Linked DNA regions of Homo sapiens: region 2 is linked to region 1. Evidence: promoter capture Hi-C in human tissues and cell types (Jung and others, 2019). All regions are on one chromosome and are shown on one strand. The core of a region is centred on a gene start or on the middle of the fragment in contact, and the rest is flanking DNA. Distances in the headings are between cores, read along the strand shown. Region 1 holds the start of APOBEC2 (apolipoprotein B mRNA editing enzyme catalytic subunit 2). Region 2 has its middle 32 kb from the start of LINC00951.

Region 1 (6,113 bases), core at 228-2,727:
AGCCATCCTCTGCTGCTGTTCCGGCTCAGGGTCTTTTCTATGGGCCCCCATCATCTCTCTCTGGCCTCAGTAGGCTTCTCACTGGTCCCCTGCCTCTGCTCTTCCCAAGTGCTCAGACCACCTGTCTCACCTGTTCAGAGACAATGGCTTCCCACCTCAGTCTGAGAAAAAGCAAGGTACTTATGACAGCCCATAAGGCCCCAGTCCCTTTTACCCTTGTTATCTCTCTGGCTTAATCTCTTAGAACTCTTCAGTCACCCAGATGTATGTCCTCGCTAGTTCCTCAAACACCCCAGGAATGCTCCCTTCTCAGAGCCTTTGCTCACGTTGTTCCCTTCCTTGGAACGCTTTCCTCTTAGACAACCAAATGATTAGTTCCCTTGCCTTCTTCACGTCTTCTTCAATTGTCTCCTTTTCAAAGTCCTTCACCCTGGCCATCCTATAAGTACGTAACCCCACCTCTTAGCACTTCCTGTTTCCATTTCCTGTCTTTTCTCCTTGGCACTTGTCATCACAAAATAGACCATGTATTTTACTTACCTTATTTGTTGTTCAGTTCCTCAAGCTCCACAAATCATCACAGCAGGGATTTTCATTTGCTTTGTTCTTTTGCCATATTCCCAGTACCTGAAACAGCACCTGGCATAGAGTAGATACTCAATAAATATTTGTTAAGAAGAATAAAAGACTGACTGTGAGGGCACATAGCATGGAGGTTGAATATTTGGCCTGAAGTACAAAAGCCTGCATTTTAATCCCGGCTCTGCACACTTCTGTGACTCAGTTTACCTGTAACTTGGGATAATACACATCGCCTCCCATGGCTGTGGCAAGCATGCATCTGATTTCATTTAAACCCCTAAACCCACTGCCTGGCCTGTTTCAAAATCTCTGAGCTAAGTAAATGGCAGCTATTGTTACTCAGGGAGGCTCCTGATCGATTTGACATTACATTATGGCTTTGTAACAGGCAAATCAGCACCCACCGCTTTTGAGTCATAACTCACACACTTACTCCCCAAATTGTCAGTTTTGATCCCACCTCTGCCAGGACCCCTCCTTTCCTGAACCCACGTTCCCCCAAAGCAAATGGCCTGGGTCTTTTTGCAGTCAGCCCCTTTCAACACACATCTCCTCCTGTTTAAATCTCAGAAGGCCACCCTCCTAAATCTCAGGATGCCTGCCCTGGGGCCCCTTCCACACTCTCCCCCAGTGGAGCTAGGGAATTTGGGTGGGAAACAAAGGGGAGAACATAAGGTGAGCTGAGAGGGAGAGGGAGAAGAGAGCAGGCCAAGCCATACCCACCTGCCAGGTTCCTGTCTTTGCCTACTGATAAATAGGGGATACTAATGGCCAGATTTTCCATTCCCCCACCCCAGCACCCGCTGTCACTCAATTAAAAAAAGATAGAGGGAGAGAGCCTGGGGGAGGGGCAGGAGGCCTTGGCTATAAAGCCTGTGGCTAAGTGGGGAAAGCACGAAGCCTGGCCTGCTGGGTCCTTTTCCCGTCATCCCCAGCCAGATTTAGCTGCTGACAGCTGCTTGGGACTCTGCCGCCAGGGCCTGGCCCAGACCTGCCTGCCTCTCTCCTCTCCCTCAGTGACTCCTGAGCCACAGCCCCTCCATGGCCCAGAAGGAAGAGGCTGCTGTGGCCACTGAGGCTGCCTCCCAGAATGGGGAGGATCTGGAGAACCTGGACGACCCTGAGAAGCTGAAAGAGCTGATTGAGCTGCCGCCCTTTGAGATTGTCACAGGGTAAGCCTCAGATGTGGGTCAGGGTTCTGCTCCCTAGAAGAGTGCAGCCTTGGGTTAGGCTGTGGAAATTCAGGATGGTTATATTAGGCGTCAGGGACAGCTACAACCCTGCAGCAGTGAGAGTGCACCAGTGGGCCCGGCAGGGGTGGTAGGGGACCCAGCAGCAAATTCTCTTGGCTTCTCAGGGTGACACCTTGGGCTCTCTAATCAGGGAGAGGTAGGAGGAGCTCCTTGGAGGCAAAAGCCCAGAGAATAAAACCACCCTTCAGGCCTCCTGGTATTGGGATGGCCACCTGCCTCTCTGGGTAGAAGCTTAGTCCCAGGGAGTTTGGCGAGGACAGAGGATGAGACTGGCACATCTATATGTGGCTCCGTTCAAAGCAACCCTTCCCCTCAACTTCTCTGTTCCTGAGTGGGTCTCTCCGCTAGCCATAGGCCTCTAGCCCTTTCTTTAGAGCTTCTTCCTGGAGTAGATGCTCCCAAGACAGGAAAGATAGATCCATCCTTTCCCAAGACTCAGAAGCAGCTTTTTTCTTATTAAATCTTTTGAGTCTCCTCAGGGGCTGTCCCACAGAGAAACAGAGAAATTACATGCAGATAACGCAGCCCAGGAGCTTATGGACACAGGAGCTGTTCCAACATGCTCAGGCATTGCCTGGAGGAACTGGGACCCAAAGAAAAGGGTCTACAGACTGCAAGGAGGGGGCTGTGTGCAGGGTACCTCTGTCTTATCCAGATTATGCCATCTCCAGGAATAAAACTAAGTAGTCTTCTTCCTCTTCCCTTTCTATTCCTGTAGTGGAAGACCCTTCTAAATCCTGAGCAAAGAATAAAAAGAGAATCTATGAGGCCATATTTCCTCCTTGAACCAAACGTTCCCTTCATGGGGTCTCCAGGAATGACCACAGGCAGAGTGGGTGCGAGACTAAGAGAAGTTTCAGGAAGAAAGGAGGCATGATGCTTTCAAGGGGGAAAGGAAGCCCTGAGTGGCAATTTGGACTTGATATTTCAAGCTTGACAAGTGATTTTCCAGTCAGCCACAGTTTTAGCACTTATAACATGAAGATCTATAGTAGTAAGGTCCCTTCCAGCTCAGATGTTTTCTGATTTTCAAGAGAACCTAAGGGAAAATGCATCCTATTTCCTGAGGCAAGAGTAGCCCCTGAATTTCCATTTGCCCATGCCCACCCAACTAATCTCACCCTCATCCTAGGATTAAGGGAGCAGCTGGGCACAGATTAATATAGACACAGGGAAAGCCTAAGGCAGCCTGGCCAGGAGAGTCCTCAATTCCAGTGGCTTTCTTATGGAAGGAGAGCCTTTTTCTAACACCTAAGCATGCTGGTATACGCTATCCTTAGTCATACACACACGCGTGTGCACACTACACTCTTGTGTGGCTTTCCAACACAGAGGGAGGGTAGGTCAAGAACAGAATTAGACTATGTTTGTTCAGCTGAACATGCTTTGGGGGTCCCAGAGCAATGGATCCTGAAGGGTTAAGTCCACTGATATAACTTACATTTGTCCAGGGCTTTATAATCACAACATAGTTTCATGAACATGAGACCATTCAACACTCAGCACAAAGGTAGGAGAGGGAGATATATTATTGCCACTTTACAGAGGGGGAAACTGAGACTCAGAGAGATTGAATGGTATGTCCAAAACCACAGAACTGGTAGGTGGCACATCTTCTTACTCCCAGCAAAGTATCCTTTCTACTGGTTTCTTATTCATTCTGGATCCCAGGTTTCCCAGAGCTCCACGTTATCTCTATCTGGGAGGTAGTGAGGACCCAAGGCTCAGAAAAAGGGGCACAGAAGGGGCAACGTTCTGAGCATTCTGTGAACAGTTCAGGTGGGAGCAGAGCGCTGAGTGTTTCCTGGCCACAAGTAACAGCTGTAGAGAGCTGTCTCCTGGGCCCCTCTGGGTAAACAGATGGCTTAAAATAGCCCAGAGGTGCAGCTGGGTCTGTGCAGGGAGAGGGTGAGGGAATAGCTTTCCTCTCCTTCCCTCTTGAGATGCATTCCCCCCAGGACTCCCTCCTGGAGTCAAGGGGGTCAGCAAAGCAGCTTTTCTAGCCTGGTCTCCTATAGGGAAGATCTTTAGTGCTCCTTATATTTGGGCCAAAAACTAGCAGAAGAGCAGGTAGCTTTTCCGGAAACAGTCCGACATGAGGAGGGTAGCTGGTAGGAAGGAGAGATGCCCAGCTCATAGCGATTCTGGTTGAATAGGGCATTCAGGATAGAAAGCGGAACTGAGCACATTAACAAAATAACATGGTAGAATGTTCTGGAAAAGGGCCTAAGCCTGCCGTAGCGTGCTGAAGCCAGTTCCTGTTGGTTCACAAGTCTCTTCCCTACTCTGCATCCAGTGATATCACCTCGGGAGCTTGAAATCTCTGTAATGGGAGTACTTACCTTATGGAAATCAGCAAACTTTAGAAATTGGGGATTCTTCCTTCTATCAGAGAGATGAGTGTTACACTTATCAGCACACCATTGAAAACCAGAAACCTCTGAAAGTGAGAGGAAGAGCAGTGGGAAAGGGATCAGGTTTGGTAATGCTTAAGACGGAGCTCTGAAGGATACAATTTGAGGCCTGGAGAAGGCATCATATGTATCATACATCAATTTCCTTTTTCTTTTTTGGAGATGGGGTCTTGCTTCTTGCTCTGTTGCCCAGGATGGAGTGCAGTGGTGCAATCACAGCTCACTGTCGTCGCAACCTCCCGGGCTCAGGTGATCTTCCTGCCTCAGCCTCCCAAGTAGCTAAGACTACAGGTGCATGCCACCACGCCCAGCTAATCTTTGTATTTTTATAGAGATGGGTTCTGACTGTGTTGCCCAGGCTGCTCTCAAACTCCTGGCTTCAAGCAATCCTCATGCCTCAGCCTCCCAAAGTGCTGGGACTATTGGCGTGGGCCACTGTGCCCAGACTAGCTTTGAGTGTCTACTGTTGTCCAAAACCTTAGAAGTTAGATTACTCACTCTTTCAGGTGAGGAAACTAAGCCTCAGAGGGATTAAGTCATATGGCCAAAGCTTGTTGATGGAGTAGGATGTGAACCCCAGGACTGTCTGACTCCAAATCATCACACTGCATCCAAAAAACCAGAGAGGATTCTTTTTATATTTACTGAATAAGAGTTTTTCATTTACTGCCTGTTTCCCCTGTTAGTATTTAACCTCTATGAGGACAGCACTTTGTCTTTTTCACTGCTTTATCTTTAGCACCTAGCTCCTGATAGGTACTCAATACGTATTTGTTGAATAAATGAATGACCTAATGAATAAGAACCTTTTGGGTGGTTCTTAGGCTCTCTGTCAGACAAGACAGGGAATGAACTGGGGGAGGGTTTCTTGAGGACAGCAGCTCAGGGTGTATGACGATCCAGCAACACTAGATTTAGGTAAGAATTCCCCTGGCTCATGCCTGCTTCTGGACACAGCACGTTTTAGTAGAGCTCTGGGGCACGAGAGCTGGTTGTCTCCCCAGCTTTCCAACCCAGTGAGAAGTGACTGTGGCTCTGCCTGGCAGCACCCTTGATGTGAGCTTGGCTTTGTCTCTAGTTATGTTGTATATGTTTTTACAGAAAGCAGAACCTCCTATCCCAGGGATTATTATGGAACAAAGATAAATGGCACACAGAGTGATTCTTCTTCTAACCACTTCTTTAGCTACCAGTAGTTTACTCTAGCCATGTAAGGAACACAGAGAGGCAGTGTCCAGAGGAGAAGGGTGAGATAAGGAGTGAGGGGACTTCGACACCAGTTAACACCAGCCACAGCCCTTTACCCTCACCCTGGCCTCTGGAGCACGCTGGGTGGTGTGTCACCAAGAAGAGAAGGCAGCGCACTGACTCTGGCCAACCTGCCTTCCACAGAGGGTTGGGGGCAGGTCAAAGCTCAGGTGTGAAGACCATGCCTACCAGGGAAAACAGGCAAGTTCAGGGTTTCCCTTGGGCAAAATCCCATCCAGTCCCACAGTCTGGAGTTCCCTTCTCAGCTCTAGGGAGTCAGGCTGCTAGAACCCTCTGCTCCTGCTCTTACTACTCTTTCTGATTATGCCCACTCCTTGGTATCCGCTTTGAAAAGTGGTCTGAGAAAGCAGAAGGCCAATGAAACCAGCAATCCTCCCTCTTTCACGCCAGTCACCAACAGGTCTAGTGAGGGAAAGCTGAAACAAGTCAACACATAATTACCTATGAGTAGATTTTTCCACTCATGGATTATTCTGGAGCAAATGTTTAATCTCAGTCCAGCTTCAACTGCCCTCTGGGTTGCTTCCTTTCACAGTATAGATTTACGCTTAGAAAATTCAAACGTTTTGAATGTGAACCTGAGAAAAATGTATTA
Region 2 (6,291 bases), core at 2,274-4,773, 730 kb before region 1:
GGCCCAGGACAGGGAAAAAGACCCAGCCACCAGCAGGGGAGAAGGGAAGAGAGGGAGGGAGGAGGGCAGGACCAGATACATCTCTGGGCATAGGTTCAAAGTAGAGGAAAGTGTTAGAAGCCTGGTAAAGGTCAGTGTTCACTATCTGGGACCAAACAGGGGTGTGGGCATAGCTCCAGGGTAATGGCCCTTGATTCTCTGTTTATAAGTAAACAGAGATACAGATAAATCTTGGGAGTCGATTTAGGTTTACTGGGATATGATTGGAGGCGTTAGTGCCTGTTGGGACCACACCCTCCATCCTCAAGGGGAAGGAGTAAGGTTTCTCCTAAAGAGAATGTCCTTACATCCTTTTCAGTCATACCTAGAAGAGTAGAGTCCTTGGTTAGAGACCTGGAATGCTGAAGGCAGTTCCTAGACAGCCAGAAGTAACATCAGTCTATCTCCAGGTCTTGTCCTCCTGGGTCTCAGTCACAAAAGGGCTCTTGCCCATGCAGGAGTTCTCTGCAGTAGGAATCAAAGTGGTGCCCACACCACGAGGCAGGCAGGGAGTGGGGATGGAAAGGGGCCAGACCACCCCAGAGGAGGAGAGCCTTGTGAACCAAATGGGCCAGTTGCATGAGATTCTCTGTATTTCTTTTCTTCCTATTATATCCCTGAGTTTCCTGCAAGGTCTTAGCTAACTGTCCCATGGTAATTACTGGGAGACCCTCAAGGGAAGGTGACTGTGGGGACAAAGGTAAGCACTCCAGCTCTCACTGCACTACCTTTCTAGCGATTCAACCCCCATCCCCACGCCCGCCGCCGCCGGTGGGTGACTTTGAAGGATCCAAGTTGTCTTAATGGGAGATGATGGTCGTTTTGTGATTGTAACATTTGGGAATCCAGGAATAGGTGACCTTTGAAAGAAGAAACTGTTAGTTCATATTGAGAAAGTAGCAGAACTTCCTACTCACTGCCCATCAGGCTGGGGGCAGGGCCAGAACTGGGTCCTGGGTTGGGCAGGGATGGAAGCGGGGAGGCTGAAGGGTCCCAGCCATGACTGTACCAAGTCAGGGTCTCAGGCTCTGGAACAAGACATTTGTATTCCTCTTTCTCTCCTAAAAATGTCTATGCAAAAATACACATGTACTCGCATGAATGAACCCAGGCAGGCACGCACACAACACATGTTTTTAACCAAGGAAACATCCCCCGCTCCGTTCCCAACAGACAGAGCTACAGGAAGGGACTCTGACTTCCGAATAATCTTGCAAACAAATAGCTTGACTTTAACTCCATTACCAGGGCTAATCTGTCCCGACTCCCACCTGATCTGCACAAGAAATGGGCTCATTCATAATGGATGGTGTGTGCACTTTGCAAAGTCCCCCAGAGGTATCAGTTAAGCAGTCTGCAGCGGCAGTTTCCTTAAGCAAAGGGAAGAGGCTGAGACAAGTCTCCCAGGATAAGGTCAGGCCCGGAGGGAAAATGGGTACAATGACTCCTCCCCTCCCCCTCACCCATTGGGCTGCCCTGTGCCTTTCAGTGCTCCACTCAGCTGGCTCTGCACCGCGCTCACAGCCTTCAGCACGTCTCCCCTGGGCAGCTCCACAGCCGCTCCGGCCGGGTCCCTCCATCTCGATTTACAGGCAGGAGGACAGGGAGTCTGAGGAAATGATTTTAGAGGGCAATAGTTCTTCTAGGACTGTGGTTCTCAAGCTTCAGGGTCTATCAGAATCCACTGGAGGGCTTGACAAAACTCAAGCTGCTCCCCCACCCCCTCCCCACCATTCTAGAGCTTCTGACTTAGAGTTCCAGGTGGGCCTGAGAATTTCATTTCTAGCAAAGCTTCCAGGTGCAGCTGCTGCTGGTCCGAGGACCACACTTTGAGAACCACTGGTCTAGCTCCTGACTTGGCACCAGAATCCCTCTGCCACCTTCCTCACAGGTAAAGTCAGAAATTGCATGTGCTTCCTCTTATTAGATGCCTCTTCCTACCAGTCCCCACTCTCTCTTGTGCTTTGTTTTCTTGTCTGTCTGTCCTTCCAGAATGTAAGTCCCTAGAAAACAGGATATGTCTTAGTCTCCTGTGTGTTCCCAGGACTGTAAACATACCAGGAAAAGCTTCAGCAAGAGGTATATACCACTAGGGGAACAGTGGTTACCCACCCCCAGGAAGAAGCAGGATCAGGGTGGGATGTCACTACTGAAGAATTGTTACTTTTTAATACTCTAATCTGCTATATCGTTTGGATTTTAAAAATGAGAATGATCCATGTGTTAATGGGTGATTAAAAAGTAATGGAAGAAAACCGAATTTATTGACTAAAGCATCCTCTCTGAAGGTACTAACTCTGCTGTCCCACACTCCCACGGAGTCTCAAATGTGTTCAGCTAAATAGCATTACTGCCAGGTGCTGCTGAAAGAGCTTTAAATATACAGACTTATTTAGTACTTACAACAGCCACATGAGGTGAGGACTATGTCTTATCCCTGTTCCTTATATGAGGAAGCTGAGGCCCAGAGACGCTAGTTAGCTTACCCAAGGCCAGGTGTCTCATTTGCAGTAGAGTTGACATTCACCCCTCAACAGGCTAGTTCTGGGAGTTGTGATCTTGACCCCTGGTGGAGCTGTACCACCTAGAAGTTGAGGTTCAGCAAAAGATGGAATCCTATTTATTTACACCTAACCCACTTTGCTCTAAAGAGGATTCGAGGGGACTGCTATCTGATTTAGTTATCCAAAGCTTATATTGCCTAGAAATGTTACCTTTAATTAAAAAAAAGCCATCAAAGCAGACATGATCAGTGGCCTCTGAGATTTTCTGTTCCTATTGTTTTTTCACCAATATACTGGCAAGCATGCAGCAGCAGGTGCCAAAAGGAGAGAAAAATTTATAGGGGGAGGACTTTAAATACAGAACATTCTATTCATTAACTTGATTTCTTTTGTGCACTGAAAAAAAGAGCTGCATGATTCAATTTTAGTGGAGGAAACCCTTGACCTTGCTCTGGGAACCCCTGAGTTCCCTAGCGGCAGAGCTTAGAGCGTCTGGCCTGGGGAATATTTTGTAATCATCTGAGGTGCTCAGCCCCCATCCAGCCTAAGGAGTGAATTTCTGCAGGGACTGGGAGGGGTGGTGTCTGGCATTGCTATGTTTAAACAAATCACCTCTGGTGATTGTAATGCACAGTCAGGGTTGAGAGCCACTGAGAAGATCCCTTACAATTTTAAAGTTTTGATCCTCACTCTAAGATCTCAGTTTTCTAATATTTTATGATTGTATCCCTCTCCCCCAGCCCAGAGTCCCGGCCCTGACTTTCCAATGGAAGTTGCTGGGGTGGTTTGGAATTTAATCACCTCCTTGGAAGCAGAGCCCAGCTCCCCAGGGGGCTGCTTGTTCACCCTGTGTGAGGCCAGCAGGTTTATTTACGGTTTCTGATTTTATTTATTGCCCCACCTCAGAGCTGCTCTTCTGCATACAGAGAACTCAGGCTGTCTGCTGCCTGTGCTGCTGGGGCCGCCATAAGCTGGGCTTGGATGGATGTGCAGCTTTAGTCCACCGAGTTGGCTGAGAAGCTGGTCGCCTTCCTGGGGGTGATTTTTGTGATGCAGCGAAGCCCTACCTGTTCCAAAACATCTCCCCCAAAGCTTCCCCAGCACAGGGGTTATGAATGGATGAGGCAACACAGGCCTTGCCTGCGGGAAGTTCTAGAAAAATTCTGTTCTCACTTGGAGGGCTCAACTCTGCCTATCTTACCATTTGCCTTGGGACCCACCCAGGAGGGCAGCAGCTAGATCTTGCCCTGATGCATGTTTATTGCCCTCCATGGCCAAGGGCCGATGTGGAGGACACAGCCCTTTGGAAGGTGAGTGCAGGTGGTGGAGATCACAAAGGCTGGGTAGGAAGGAGACCACCGATGGTATCTGATTTCTGTTTTTCATATTCTCTGCCTCAGTTAGCATCCACTCTCTCTCCTCTTGTTCCTTCCCTCTCCCCCACCAGGGTCTTGCCATGTAGATGGTACAGCAGTCAGGGTCTAAACAGGAAAACAGAAATCAAGTTAATGGCAGGACATGACAGAAGGAAGGTAATGCAGTGACCTGGTTATAGGTGTTGGAGGGGCCAAGAGCCAAGTGGGACAGTGAAGAAACTTCAAAATCAGCAACCTCAAGAAGCTCCTGCCAGCTCGAGGGCTGGTGGCAGGGGAGTGGTGTTGACAGTGCCTGGGAGCCAGGGCCACCCATGAGAGCTGGAACCATGCCAGCCTACAGGTCAGGAGCTGAGGCCACTGCCAGAGGAGCCTCCCCAGAAAGGAGAGCAGGAAAGACACCTGCAGCTTCTCCCCCAAACCCTAAACTCCCCCAAGGGAAACAGAACCCAACAGGCATAGAGTCTGGAGTTGCAGAGGAGGGTGGGTGGTTGTATGTTTCGAGGAAGGGCCTTGAGGACAAACAGGCAGGAGACCAATACCAGGGAATTTCCAGACCACTGTGTACTGAGATTGTGAAGCAACTTCTTCAGGATCCCGCAGCCTGGTTAGGGACCTGGTTGGGGACCTGGTTTGGGACCTGGCTAGGGATGCAGCCAAGGATTTTACCCTGACTGCCCATCCTGGGTAGGATCTCTCTGGCTTTCTGTCCCAGCCCTCCTCTGTAGGACCAAGAGCTGCTTTGCAGACAGGTGGCTGAGGAAAAAGGTGTGGTCCCTGGCTGCTGGAATCAGTCAGTGTGAAGCGAGGGAGGGGTTGTGGGTAACAGCGCCTCTGCTTCCTCTCCACCTCTTTCACCCTGTTCCCACATTTCTTTTCATCTTCTTCACCTTCTGGGAACCCCTCCTACCATGTTCTTAAACCTATATCTTGGAGGTAATGGCCACTCCCGACCTTTTCTCTCTGGGATCCAGCCACTTGAGTTGCTATGGCAGAGACAATGCTCTGTGTTCACCTCCCCATTTCCTCTGTCTGAGCACGTGGCAAGGTTATATCTCCCAGCCTCCCTTGAGGTGAAGTTAACCCATCCATGTGACCCGTTCTGGCCAATGGGCTGTGGGCAGTGGATCCCCTCTGGTCCAAGGCACTTAAAACCAGGTGTGAGTTCTCCAAGTTCTCCTTTTCCTGCTACAGTAAGCTGAAGCCCACTCATGTTGACATGACATCAGTGGACAGAAGGGATCCTCAAGGAGAGGACAGCTGCCTTGGAGAATCAGACATCCTACACTGGACTTTACATGTGCAAAAAGTAAATTTTTATTGTATTAAGATACCAAGATTCAGAGGTTAATTTTAAAAACACACAAACAACAACAACAACAATAAAAACACATCATAGCCTGGTATTACCAAAACACAGTTGCTATATGCTATAATGATTTCTCCCAGAAACAGAGTGAGACCCCTCTTATATTCTTCCACAGGCCCCTGAGTGGCCCTTGTCCAGTTTAAGGCTGCAATCTCCATGGAGGCATCCCCAAGCCTGGCACAGTAGCTGGCACAAAAGAAAAACTGAGTAAATAGTTGTTGACTAAATGAACAAGTGAGTGAACTAATGAATAACCCAGGACCAGCTAAGAACATCTTAGAATGAGATCATGGTTTATCCTGGAGCACCAGAAGGAAAACACCCAGTCCAAGAGGGCGGAAATAGAATTCAGGGAAACCTTGACAGATTAGAAAAATGATCCATTCAGGATGGGTGAAATACAAGGCAAGGCTTGTAGAAATTCAACACAAGCCTCATCAATCCAGGGGGAGGTGAGGAGAAACCCAACGGGACCCAGGATCATAGGGGACTGGGAGTCTAATAACATCCTTAGGGAAGGACCAGCCTCTTCCATGCTGGGACAGGACCCAGGAAGGAGGAATCGGCACATGCCAGGCAGGGTGTGATCATCCCACTGCACTTGGCCTTCTCCCGGCATCTAATTTTAGCTGTCACATTTAAGAAGGATTTGGAAGCTCTGGAGCACAGCCAGAGCCAATAGGAGAAATGATGAAAGGTTGAAAAAAATAGAACCTGTAGGAAAAGTCCAGGAGAGGTGGGAGTTAAATGGGTCTGGGAGAGGCAGCTGTATGCAAATGAGCAGCTCTTTAGTTTGAGGAGGGTGGGGAAGCCAGAACTGGGGGACATTGATTTATACAGCAGCAAGAAAGGTTTAAGTTAGACTCCAGGAAGTGAAACTTGATGAAGGCTTCTGGTGAACTAAGTACTTCCCTTGGCTGCCCCCCTGCTCAGGAGGCCCTGGTAGACCCCTCCCTTGTCCCACAAGGGGCCAGGCATGAGGATGACTGGAAATGTGAAGTCCTAG

The links. Contacts are between HindIII fragments. The study calls those that stand out against the background at their distance.
Region 2: a fragment that was not itself captured here is called in contact with the fragment with the promoter of APOBEC2 in region 1 in 1 of the 25 tissues and cell types used here (dorsolateral prefrontal cortex).

The regions. Positions count from the first base shown.
Region 1 is chr6:41,051,725-41,057,837 of GRCh38, forward strand. It overlaps APOBEC2 (apolipoprotein B mRNA editing enzyme catalytic subunit 2), which reads left to right and starts at 1,478. Exons shown (of 3, transcript NM_006789.4): 1 at 1,478-1,754. The coding sequence starts at 1,624. The HindIII fragment of the contact is 7,265 bases long and covers 1-2,416 here.
Region 2 is chr6:40,321,014-40,327,304 of GRCh38, forward strand. No RefSeq gene overlaps it. Among named protein-coding and RNA genes, the nearest start is that of LINC00951, 32 kb to the right of the region's middle. RefSeq lists an enhancer at 1,054-1,576. The HindIII fragment of the contact is 3,516 bases long and covers 1,766-5,281 here.